Linked DNA regions of Homo sapiens: regions 1 and 3 are each linked to region 2. Evidence: promoter capture Hi-C in 16 types of primary human blood cells and fetal thymus (Javierre and others, 2016). All regions are on one chromosome and are shown on one strand. The core of a region is centred on a gene start or on the middle of the fragment in contact, and the rest is flanking DNA. Distances in the headings are between cores, read along the strand shown. Region 1 overlaps GPBP1 (GC-rich promoter binding protein 1). Region 2 holds the start of IL6ST (interleukin 6 cytokine family signal transducer). Region 3 overlaps GPBP1 (GC-rich promoter binding protein 1).

Region 1 (3,790 bases), core at 675-3,174, 1.2 Mb before region 2:
TTCTTGACATTAATAAAATGTGAGAGAAAATCTTAGCATGTAACTCAAAATCTAAATTGAGTAAAGCCCAGGAATCTGAGGAATGATCAGTGCTACAAAATGTGAAAGGTAATCTCATCTGAGAGGAATCCAGGTGTTAAAGCAGGGGGCAGTTCTATCACTATACTACAACTAAGTAAGTTTAAACATGGCTAACAGAGACTTCTAGTTCAATGTGGCTAAGCACACAAGTTTATCTTCTTCTAGATTCTTATATTAAAATTACTGTAAGGGAGGAAACCAAACACAACTATATAAAATAGGAGTAGAGTCATCAGCAAGAAAATGATTTCAACACACAGTTCTAGAGAAGTAAATAAAAAGTTTCAATTTAGAGTGTACACAAAGGAACCTAACAGCTGAGGAGGACCTAATCTACCACATAGAGCCTCAAAGGGATCAGGACTTGAAAATGCCAGATATGGTAGAAGGCAGAAATGCAACTTTGATAAAAATAGAATAATTCAAAAGATCCTTACTAATTCTAAAGAATGTACTTTAGGCAGAAGGAAAATGATCCAATGTGGAAAGCTGAAGATATAAGAAGAAATAAAAATTTTTATAAATATGAAGGTATCAGATCCAGGAAGTAGGCTGGGTGTGGTGGCTCATGCCTGTAATCCCAGCACTTTGGGAGACCAGGGTGGGAGGACCGCTTGAGTCCAGGAGTCCAAGACCAGCCTGGGCAATATAGTGAAACTTTGTCTCTACAAAAAAAAATTTTTTCAATTAGCCAGACACAGTGATGTGCACCTGTAGTCTTAGCTACTTGGGGGGCTGACATAGGAGAATCCCTTGAGCCCAGGTTGAGGCTGTAGTGAGCTGTGATGGCACAACTGTACTCCAGTCTGGGCCACAGAGTGGGACCCTGTCTCAAAACAAAAACAAGGAAGCAGAAGACATGAAAACTAGATAGGCAAGTAGATATACTATCTTTAAGCCTCAATATAGTTTCTGAGTACAAATTTCACCTTTCCTAAAGCTGGATTCCTAGATGCCTAGGAGTAAGAAATATTCTGGCTAGTTCCTCAATGAGGTCTTCAGTACAAAGAATGATGAAATATTCTATAAAGAAGGAAAGTGAAACCTAAGAAATCATTCACAGAAGAGTAGGTAGCAGAGTAAGAGATGACAAAAGTCCCTGAAGAAAGAGGATAGGGACTGAGAGGAAAGGGGAGGGATATACCGTTATTGTGCTTATTAAGAATTCGTATTAGGCCAGGCACGGTGCCTCATGCCTATAATCCCAGCACTTTGGGAAGCCGAGGCAGGTGGATCACGAGGTCAGGAGTTCAAGACCAGCCTGGCCAATATGGTGAAACCCCATCTCTACTAAAAATACAAAAATTAGCCAGGTATGGTGGCAGGCGCCTGTAATCCCAGCTACTCGGGAGACTGAGGCAGAGAACTGCTTGAACCCGGGAGGTGGAGGTTGCAGTGAGCCAAGATCACACCACCGCACTCCAGCCTGGGCGACAGAGTGACACTCCATCTCAAAAAAAAGAAAAAAACAAAAAAAGTAATTCATATTAGGCCGGGCGCAGTGGCTCACGCCTGTAATCCCAACACTTTGGGAGGCTGAGGCGGACGGATCACAAGGTTAGGAGTTTGAGACCAGCCTGGCCAACATGGTGAAACCCTGTCTTTACTAAAAATACAAAAAGTTAGCCAGGTGTGGTGGCAGGCCTCTCTAATCCCGGCTACTCGGGAGGCCGAGGCAGAAGAATCACTTGAACCCGGGAGGCAGAGGTTGCAGTGAGATGAGATCACACCACTGCACTCCAGCCAGGGCGACAGTGTGAGACTCCATTTAAAATAATAATAATTCATATTTAGGCCAGGCATGGTGGCTCAAACCTGTAATTCCAGCACTTTCGGAGGCCAAGGTGGGATGGATCACTTGAGCCCAGGAGTTCAAGACCAGGCTGGGCAACATAATGAGACATCATCTCCATGAAAAATTTAAAAATGAGGCAGGAAGATCGCTTGAGCCTAGGAGGCTGGGGCTGCAATGAGCCATGATCGCACCACTGCACTCATGCCTGGGGGAGAGGGCAAGACTCTGACTCAAAAACTGCAAAAAGAATTCACATTTAAATATTACAGAAGAATGTGTACTTTTGTACCAGATTTATCAGAATTTGAATACTAGCTCCAACCTTACCAGTTGTATAATCTTATATAAGTTACTTAATCTCTCACCTATAAAATGAAAAACAATAGCTCTTGTCTGGGATTTACTGTGGAATGTTTCATATTCAAATAATTATTAGAAAACAATACAGAAAAGCCATACACTGTCACTAGCATAGGATTCCAATTACAATTCAAATTAAAGGTGTCCTTTTGCAAGAATTTCAGGTTGCTTAACCTGCAATTAGATATCAGAGGGAAAAAAGAATTTTAGGTTGACTGGTAAGAGTAAGAAAAAGAAAAACTTTAAGATAGACATGATAAAACCAATCTATGTCCTGTGTAACAACTCTGAATAATCGACATAAACCTGCTCATTTAAGAAAAAGAAGTGTTCTTAATGGTAACAATAACCTGTAAGTAATGGAAGAAGGGATGTGGGACTAAAAGGCAAGAATTAATTTGCATCATGTATCCCCATTTTATATTATTTAAAAATTGGCTCATCTATTCACAGATTTTCTCCACAAATTCTCCTAGGAAAACCTTGCCAAGTATTTAAGCTCTTAGAGTCAAACATTATCCAATGTTTACTTTCTGACTTGGTTAATTATATGAAGAAGACCCCAAATGTTTACATTTTAAAAGAGAAAACTTATATATTGATGACAGACCTTAATACCTATATAAAATGAGAAAGTAAGTGACTATCTTCTATAAGTTTCATGTGCTTATTACATCAACCTCACCTACACAGGTATTCTCATGTTCAAATTTCAGAACAACTGAAGGCAAATGTGACCTTTGGATTTTCTTAACATTATTTCCCTCTATCCTCGCAAATAAATGTAGCCTGACAATAACTGACCTTTTTATTTTTATTTTTGTAGAGACAAGGTTCACTATGCTGCCCAGGCTGGTCTCAAACTCTTGGCTTCAACTGATCTTCCCACCTCGGCCTCCCAAAGTGCTAGGATTACAGGCCTGGACCACCAATCCTGGCCCTATAATTGACTTTAAATATTAAATATCACTTTTATTGTCTTGTTATTCATGCTCTTCCCATACCTATGAATGTAAGAATTAGTTTTCTTCTATAAATGCAGTGATGACGGGGAACTGGCCCAATTCTCAGGAAGACAAATTAGAACAAAAATACTGCCACATATAATACAAAGTAAATTGGCCACACAGATAATTCAGAGTTGACATTTCAATTCCTCACCTCTTTCCTTTCACTACACTCTCCATATAGCTACCTTCTACATACATGAAGTTTCTGACTCAATCACTACATTTAACTACTTCATTCTTTGGCCCACTACCTAGAAATTCATTTTTGCCTTCTAACAAAGCTACAACTAGAATCTCCTTCATTTATTGGATTTGAACAACATAATTAGCTGACATTTATTAAACACCTGTGACATGACCAAATATTTTTACATAGTAGACAATTTAACCTTAACAATGCCTTTTTTTTTTTTTTAAATGGGAGACAGAGTTTCGCTCTTGTTGCCCAGGCTGGAGTGCAATGGCGCGATTTCAGCTCACCACAACCTCCGCCTGCCTCAGCCTCCCGAGTAGCTGGAATTACAGGCATGTGCCACCACACCCA
Region 2 (3,419 bases), core at 28-2,527:
TTCAATTTAACAAATTTTTATAAAAATTTGTTTTAAAATAAACACCCCTCTAAATGGCAAAGCTAGAACAGAATCTGGTCACAATCTATAGGTTAGATATAGGATGACAGGGAGGAGCAAGAGCTGAACACATCAGCTGCAGCACCATCTACTTTGCCTGCGACTCCGTTAGCAGGCCCACTTTGCCCTTTTATAAATTATCTGATCAACAACTAAGAGATTAAAATTCGATCTATGTTTTACTCTATCTGAATCCTCAATATAATGAAGAACTTTATAATTGTTAATTTATGGATATAATTTAAGTTCATTAAACCATTATTTCCTTCCTATATCCTCTCATTCTTCCACAAAAACCTCTACCTTTGGGTGTTTACTTTTACAGACACCCACGCACACACCCCACACGCACGCACGCACATGCCTTATCTTTTAACTCAAGATTCTCATCTTCCTTTGGGGAGAAACAAACATCATGAGCCTTGAGGTCCATTTTCTGAGGGAAAGGGGGGGGCGGAGGCGGGATGAATAGGTTTTTACCCGGTATTTTTTATCATAAACGGGGAGGTACAAACCGCAAAGAAACACTAGTCGCTTGGTGGGCCACCACCTCTGGGGCTCACTGATCAATCGCACCCAAACTCATTTACTAATTTAAAAAAGTACTGTGGCAAGGCTCGTTTACGTAAGTCTTGGAGAGAAGCCGCCGCCACAATCTGCCGCAGTCTCGTGCGGAGTCACGGCCACCGAGCTCTTCACTTTCCCCAAGAGGCTCCCACGCCTTCCCCATCCCCAAGGGAGCTAGGCGGTCCCTCGCGGCTCTGAGTCCCTCGGGGAAGGCCGCGAAGAGAGGCCGCAGGCGCCCTGGCGAGAAGGGAGGGCGGGGGCAGCGGGCGGCGGGCAGCACCCGGGCTCCAGTTCATGACCCCGTTATTCCACAGAAAAATGGAACATTCCGCTCTTTCCGCCCACAGAGGGGAGGTGGGGGGAACCCTTCGATCTAGTCTGGGAGAGGCGACGCGGACGCAGCCACCGGAATCCGGGACGCGAAGAGCCGCGTTACGGGAATCGCTACCCCTCGGAGTCCCGCCCCCTCGTCGACAGGCGGCCACTGGACCAATGCCTGGGCGCAAAGGGTCTCTCAGGGGCCAATCAGCGCCTAGGTCCCGGTAGGGGGCGGGGCGCAGCGTTGGCCGGCCGGGGGCGCAGCTGGGCGGGATTGGGGAGCGCCCCGCCCCGCCGCGGGACTGGGGTGGCGCGCTACCTCTGCGGAGAAGGATCTGACAGTGTTCCGGAGCCGGGGCGAGCAGCCAAAAGGCCCGCGGAGTCGCGCTGGGCCGCCCCGGCGCAGCTGAACCGGGGGCCGCGCCTGCCAGGCCGACGGGTCTGGCCCAGCCTGGCGCCAAGGGGTTCGTGCGCTGTGGAGACGCGGAGGGTCGAGGCGGCGCGGCCTGAGGTGAGGAGGGGCCGGGTGCTGGGTCGCGTAGCTGGAGTTAGAGTGTCGGTGGTTTCGGACGGGCTATCTGGCACTCGAGGAGACCTCCCTTCCCCCTGAGAGCAGCGCCCGGAACTTGTCAGCCCAGCCTGGAAATCCCCACATTCCTTCCCCTTCCTGCTCCCGGACCTCCGAATTCTACTTCCACAACTTTGTCACCTCGATTATCGCAGCCCTGAGTACAAACTTCACCCAGGCGCACGCACGCACCCCTCTTAACGCCCGCCCCGCAGAACGCCCTTCAAGAACAAACCCCCCTTTTTGTTACCAGATCCCACGTTTTTCCCAATCCCCTTTTCATCTCCCCTGAAATTCTATTCGCTCCGCACTTGTCTTCATTCTCGAGGTGGATTTCCCTTCCCCAAAGCCGTTTTTTCATCTTGAAATCGTAACGTTTCAGCTTTGTTGAAAGTTCACAATGCTTATAAACACTATTAACGTTTCTTTCCTTCTTTTGATCTTTTCTATTAATAATTATCATTCCTAACGAATTCCACATCTCACTGTATCCCAAGGAGAACAAATCAGTTTTTAAAATTTTACCTCCTCCGACCTAAACTTTTGAAGATAGTGCAGGAAGCAAGGGTCTGTTCTTCAGTGGATGAACAGCATTTTATTTCATAATCCGAAACTGAAAAAAAAAAAAAATCACAGGTTAAAAATAAGACGTCACCTTTTTTTTTTTTTTTTTTTTTTGCCTTCAGAAGGAAACGCATTTTGGCTTAGTTTGTGAAGTATTTCAACAATTATACTGCCTTAAAATAACTAGTTATTAGAATGCCAGGGTGAATTTTCTGAAAGATTGTGGTATTTGCTTTTGACAGTGCTGTAAACAAACCCTTTAAACTGTGTATGACTGCCAGCTTCAAGTTGGAACAACTCTTAATTTGAAATTACGGACTCAGATCATCAGTTTAGCTGTGTGCCATTATGTTAATTTCTTAAATTCATGTTAATTCCTATTTGGAAGTATTTTTGAACTATGAACTGAAATATTACATTTATAGAACCAACTTGCTATTAAATTGTGCTTTCCAACTATTTCTCTTTAGGGATAATCTTGAACGTTTGTTTTTAATCTTGAGTGAAAGAAAAAAATTACAGGAAGGAGAAAGTGTCAAAAAGGACAGACTGTAGTGGGATTTTTTTCTTATTTTAAGTATGTATTGACAATACCAGTTTAATTTTCTCACAGGCAATTTAGATTATTATAAATACTGCTGCCACCTAATTTAATATAATATAGTCTTACGTAACTAAAAATGTTGTTCTCACTCTTATTTGTGAATTGCAGTATTTTCAATTTATTTAAATTTGTTTCCAAGGCTTTGCACTTCAGTTCAGTGTTAGGGCGAAAGTTAAATACATGTGAAGTAGGTGTTAAAATGTCCCCTTTATAGAGAAGGAAACAGGAGTCTCGCTGAAAACTAGATCTGTGTGACTCCAAATCCTGTGCTCTGAATCATTTTGTCATGTTGACACGTTTCTCATAAAAACCCCAGTGCCACAATTTGGTTTGGGAACTTAAGGGCAACCCATAAATCCTCTACAGTGGCAGGGAGGGATTCCCCGCTCCCTCCTTTCAGAGCTGCTCATTTTAATGGGAGTCAGAATTCTCTGGCCCTAATACATTTGCAGCTTGGCTCCTAGAGAAGCATGGAATGTTCTCACAGCTTCTCCGTTTCTTTGATTGCAAAGGCAGAATGATCAGAGTTGAGGTTCCTATTGTGCTTTATTATTTTACACAGCAAATACTAAGCAATTACTACCTGCTGTACGAACTCACAAAGGTGCAGGAGATGTAATCAGGACCTTCAAAGAGTTTATAATAATTGGATTGACAAACTTATACGAAAAAAACTACAAGGATGCAAAGCAGTTTTAATTAAATGCAGAGTGATGCAGAAAATCCTGTAGATATTAA
Region 3 (3,435 bases), core at 240-2,739, 1.2 Mb before region 2:
TTGAGGCTGCAGTGAGCTATGACGCCACTGTACTCCAGCCCAGGTGACAGAGAAGATCCTATCTCAAAAAAAGAAGTTAACTCATGTTCTGAAAAAAGATTTAAAAAAAAAAAAAGGCAGTATTGTTATGGCTATGGCAGTTACACAAGTATATAAAGGCTAATTAAAGTTTCACAAGTTCCACACCACTCATCTTAACTGCATTGTGCCATCTGATTTTGTCTCTTCTTCCTTTCCCTGTGTATGTTATGGGTTGAACTGTGTCCCCCCAACCAACAAGATTTGTATGTTGAAGTCATAGCCCCCAATACCTCAAATGTAGCAATATTTGAAGATAAGGTCTTTAAAGAAGTGATTAACTGCAAATGAGGCAATTAGAGTGGGTTCTATTCCCATCAGACTGTGCCCTTATAAGAAATTTGGACACATGCACAGATAAAAGGACCATGTGAAGAGGCAGCAAGCAGGCAGTCATTTACAAGCCAAAGAGAGAGGTCTCAGAGGCAACCAACCCTCTGCTGATGCCTCTACCCTGAACTTAGAACCTCCAAAACTGAGAAAATAAATGTCTGTTGTTTAAGCCACCCAGTCTGTGGTATTTGGTTATGGCAGCCCTAGTAAACTACAAACAACTTTAGAAATAGACCAACTAAAATGTTTATGTATTAAATATTTCCTTTACACATACACAACAACCAGGTACATACAGGAGACAACTACCCTCCCCCTCAAAAAAGGCAAATCAACAGTCCTACTAACAACTCAGGAGTCAGGATTCCACAGCTTATTAGAAATCTTCTACTGGCCCCCCAATACTAAATTTGACTGGCTTAAAAAAATTTTTTTTAAGAAATCTACTGGATTCTGTCATATCTGAAGGTCCCATGTGGACATAAAGAGTTTAAGATACACAAATACTGCTAGTATGAAAACCCTAATTTTTTTCTCTGTCACCCAATTTACAATTTATTCACGACATCCATGAAGAATAAAAATTTCCCCGGGAGAAAGCTGGTTCTGAAAAAAATAAAACCTAAGTGTACATCTTTAAGTGCACATGCCTGACTTTTAATTTTTAAAAAAAGATTATTCTTCAGACTGAAAAAGAATACACTTTGGCAAAAAATACAAATAGATGAGACTTTTTTCTCTTTCTTGTTATGTTTTATTTCTGACCCTACCAAATTTGTGCCACGTTTTCAAAGAAAAACTTACTCAAATTGATTTCATCAGAATAACAAACTTACTGTCTTTATAATGATTTCAGAAAACTTTAAAATAAGCTTTAAAATCACAAAGACCATCAAAAACACCCAAAATCAACCAATAGCTAAGGAATTCTAACTACAACCAAAGTACTGAGTAAAAATCCTCAATGAAATACCAGTAAACCAAATCTAGCAGCATATTAAAAGGATTAAACACCATACAAAGTAGTATTTTCCCAGGAATGCAAGAGTGACTCAACATACAAAAATCAATCAATAATACACCACATTAATAACATGAAAGAAAAATACCAAACGATCATCTTAATTGATGCAGAAAAAGCATTTGACAAAATCTAGCACCCTTTAATTATAAAAATACTCAACAAACTAGAAACAAGAAGGAAACTTGCTCAACCTGATAAACAGCATCTATTAAAAAAAACCACAGCACATCATCCTCAATGGTGAAAGACTGAAAGCTTTCCCCTTAAGATCAGGAACAAGACAAGAATGCCCTGCTTTCACAAGCTCTATTCAACACTGTAGTAGACGTTCTAACCATAGCAACTAGGCAAGAAAAGAAATGAAAGGCATCCTGAGCCACCACAGTGCAAAGCACCTGTAGTCCCAGATACTTGGGAGCCTGGGAAGGGAGAAGTGCTAGAGCCCCACAGTTTGAGGCTGTAGAGTGCTATAATGGCACCTGTGAAAAGCACTACACTCCAGCCTGGGGAACATAGTGAGACAGTGTCGTATTTTTTTAAATGGCATCCAAATTGGGAAGGAAAAAGTAAAATTATTCCTATTCACAGATTACATGATCTTACATAAATTCTAAAGAGTCCAGAAAAAATATGTATTAGAGCTAATTAAATTCAGGAACGCTGCCAAGATAGAAGATCAACACACAAAAACAGCTGTTTGTGTATACACTATTAACAATCCAAAAAAGAAATTAGGAAAACAACTCAATTCGCAGTAAAATCCAAAAGCATAAAATACCTATAATAAATAAATATAACCAAGAAAATGTTAAGACTTGCACACCAAAAACTATTAAGACAGTGCTGAAAGAAATGTTAAAAGACCTAAACAGAAAGACATCCCTGGCCCAGCACAGTGGCTCAAGCCTGTAATCCCAGCACTTTGGGAGGCCCAGGCAGGTGGATCACATGAGGTCAAGAGTTTGAGACCAGGCTGGCCAACATGGTGAAACCCCATCTCTGCTAAAATAAAGTATTAGCTGGGCATGGAGGCAGGCACCTGTAATCCCAGCTACTTGGAAGGCTGAGGTAGGAGAATCGCTTGAACCCAGGAGGCAGAGGTTGCAGTGAGCCGAGATCACGCCATTGCACTCCAGCCTGGACGACGGGGTGAGACTCTGTCTCAAAAAAAAAAAAAAAAAAAGAAAAACAAAAGACAGATATCCCTGTGTTTGAGGACTGGGAAACTCAACACTGTTAAGACAACAACACTACCCAAACATGATCTACAGATTCAACGTAATCTCTATTAAAATTCCAACACCCGGCCAGGCTACAGTGGTTCACGCCTATAATCCCAGCACTGTGGGAGGACAAGGTGAGCAGATCACTTGAGCTCAGTGGCTCAGGACCAGCCTGGGCAACATGGTGAACCCCGTCCCTACTAAAAATAAAAAAATCAGCCAGGCATGGTGGCTCGTACCTGTGGTCCCAGCTACTTGGGACACTGAGGCGGAAGGATTGCTTGAGCCCGGGAAGTGGAGGTTGCAGTGAGCCAAGATCACACCACTGCACTCCAGCCTGAGCAACAAAATGAGACTCTATTGATATGGAGGGAGGCAAGGAAGTGCTGGGAAGAAAAGGGCATGGTCCCTGGCTAGGGCTCCAATCCCCTGAGAAAGAGTAAGACCCTACTGATACAGAAGTGTGCAGGCAAGCGCTGGGAAGGGAAGGGCATGGTCCCTCGCGAGGGCTCCATCCCCGGTTCTGTGCCCACGGATCTAGGTGAGGACAGGCATTTCTGTTTTCCTGACCAAATGATGCATTTCCCAAGACCACTCTGCCAGTCACACCCCCATCGTGTGCCTATAAAACCCTCAGAGACTCTAGTAGGCAGAGACACAAGTGGCTGGACGTCATCGAGAGGGACATATCGGCGGAAGAACACACAAATAGCTGGATGTCCAGGGAAGCATGCCAGTGGAATACCACACTGACAGAAAGCAGGCTGGCAGGCCATC

What was found. Contacts are between HindIII fragments. The CHiCAGO score rates a contact against its expected background, and 5 or more counts as called.
Region 1: a contact is called between a fragment that was not itself captured here and the fragment with the promoter of IL6ST in region 2, in 1 of 17 cell types (total B cells). The highest score is 6.5, in total B cells.
Region 3: a contact is called between a fragment that was not itself captured here and the fragment with the promoter of IL6ST in region 2, in 1 of 17 cell types (naive B cells). The highest score is 5.9, in naive B cells.

Annotation. Positions count from the first base shown.
Region 1 is chr5:57,240,830-57,244,619 of GRCh38, reverse strand. All of the region lies in intron 6 of GPBP1 (GC-rich promoter binding protein 1), which reads right to left. Among named protein-coding and RNA genes, the nearest start is that of GPBP1, 69 kb to the right of the region's middle. The HindIII fragment of the contact is 5,442 bases long and covers 1-3,790 here.
Region 2 is chr5:55,992,821-55,996,239 of GRCh38, reverse strand. It overlaps IL6ST (interleukin 6 cytokine family signal transducer), which reads left to right and starts at 1,277. Exons shown (of 17, transcript NM_002184.4): 1 at 1,277-1,456. It overlaps IL6ST-DT (IL6ST divergent transcript), which reads right to left and starts at 1,073. Exons shown (of 2, transcript NR_102755.1): 1 at 686-1,073. RefSeq lists an enhancer at 724-1,235, cis regulatory regions at 824-1,497, 191-2,509 and a silencer at 1,067-1,546. The HindIII fragment of the contact is 8,053 bases long and covers 1-3,419 here.
Region 3 is chr5:57,207,839-57,211,273 of GRCh38, reverse strand. All of the region lies in intron 2 of GPBP1 (GC-rich promoter binding protein 1), which reads right to left. Among named protein-coding and RNA genes, the nearest start is that of GPBP1, 35 kb to the right of the region's middle. The HindIII fragment of the contact is 407 bases long and covers 1,286-1,692 here.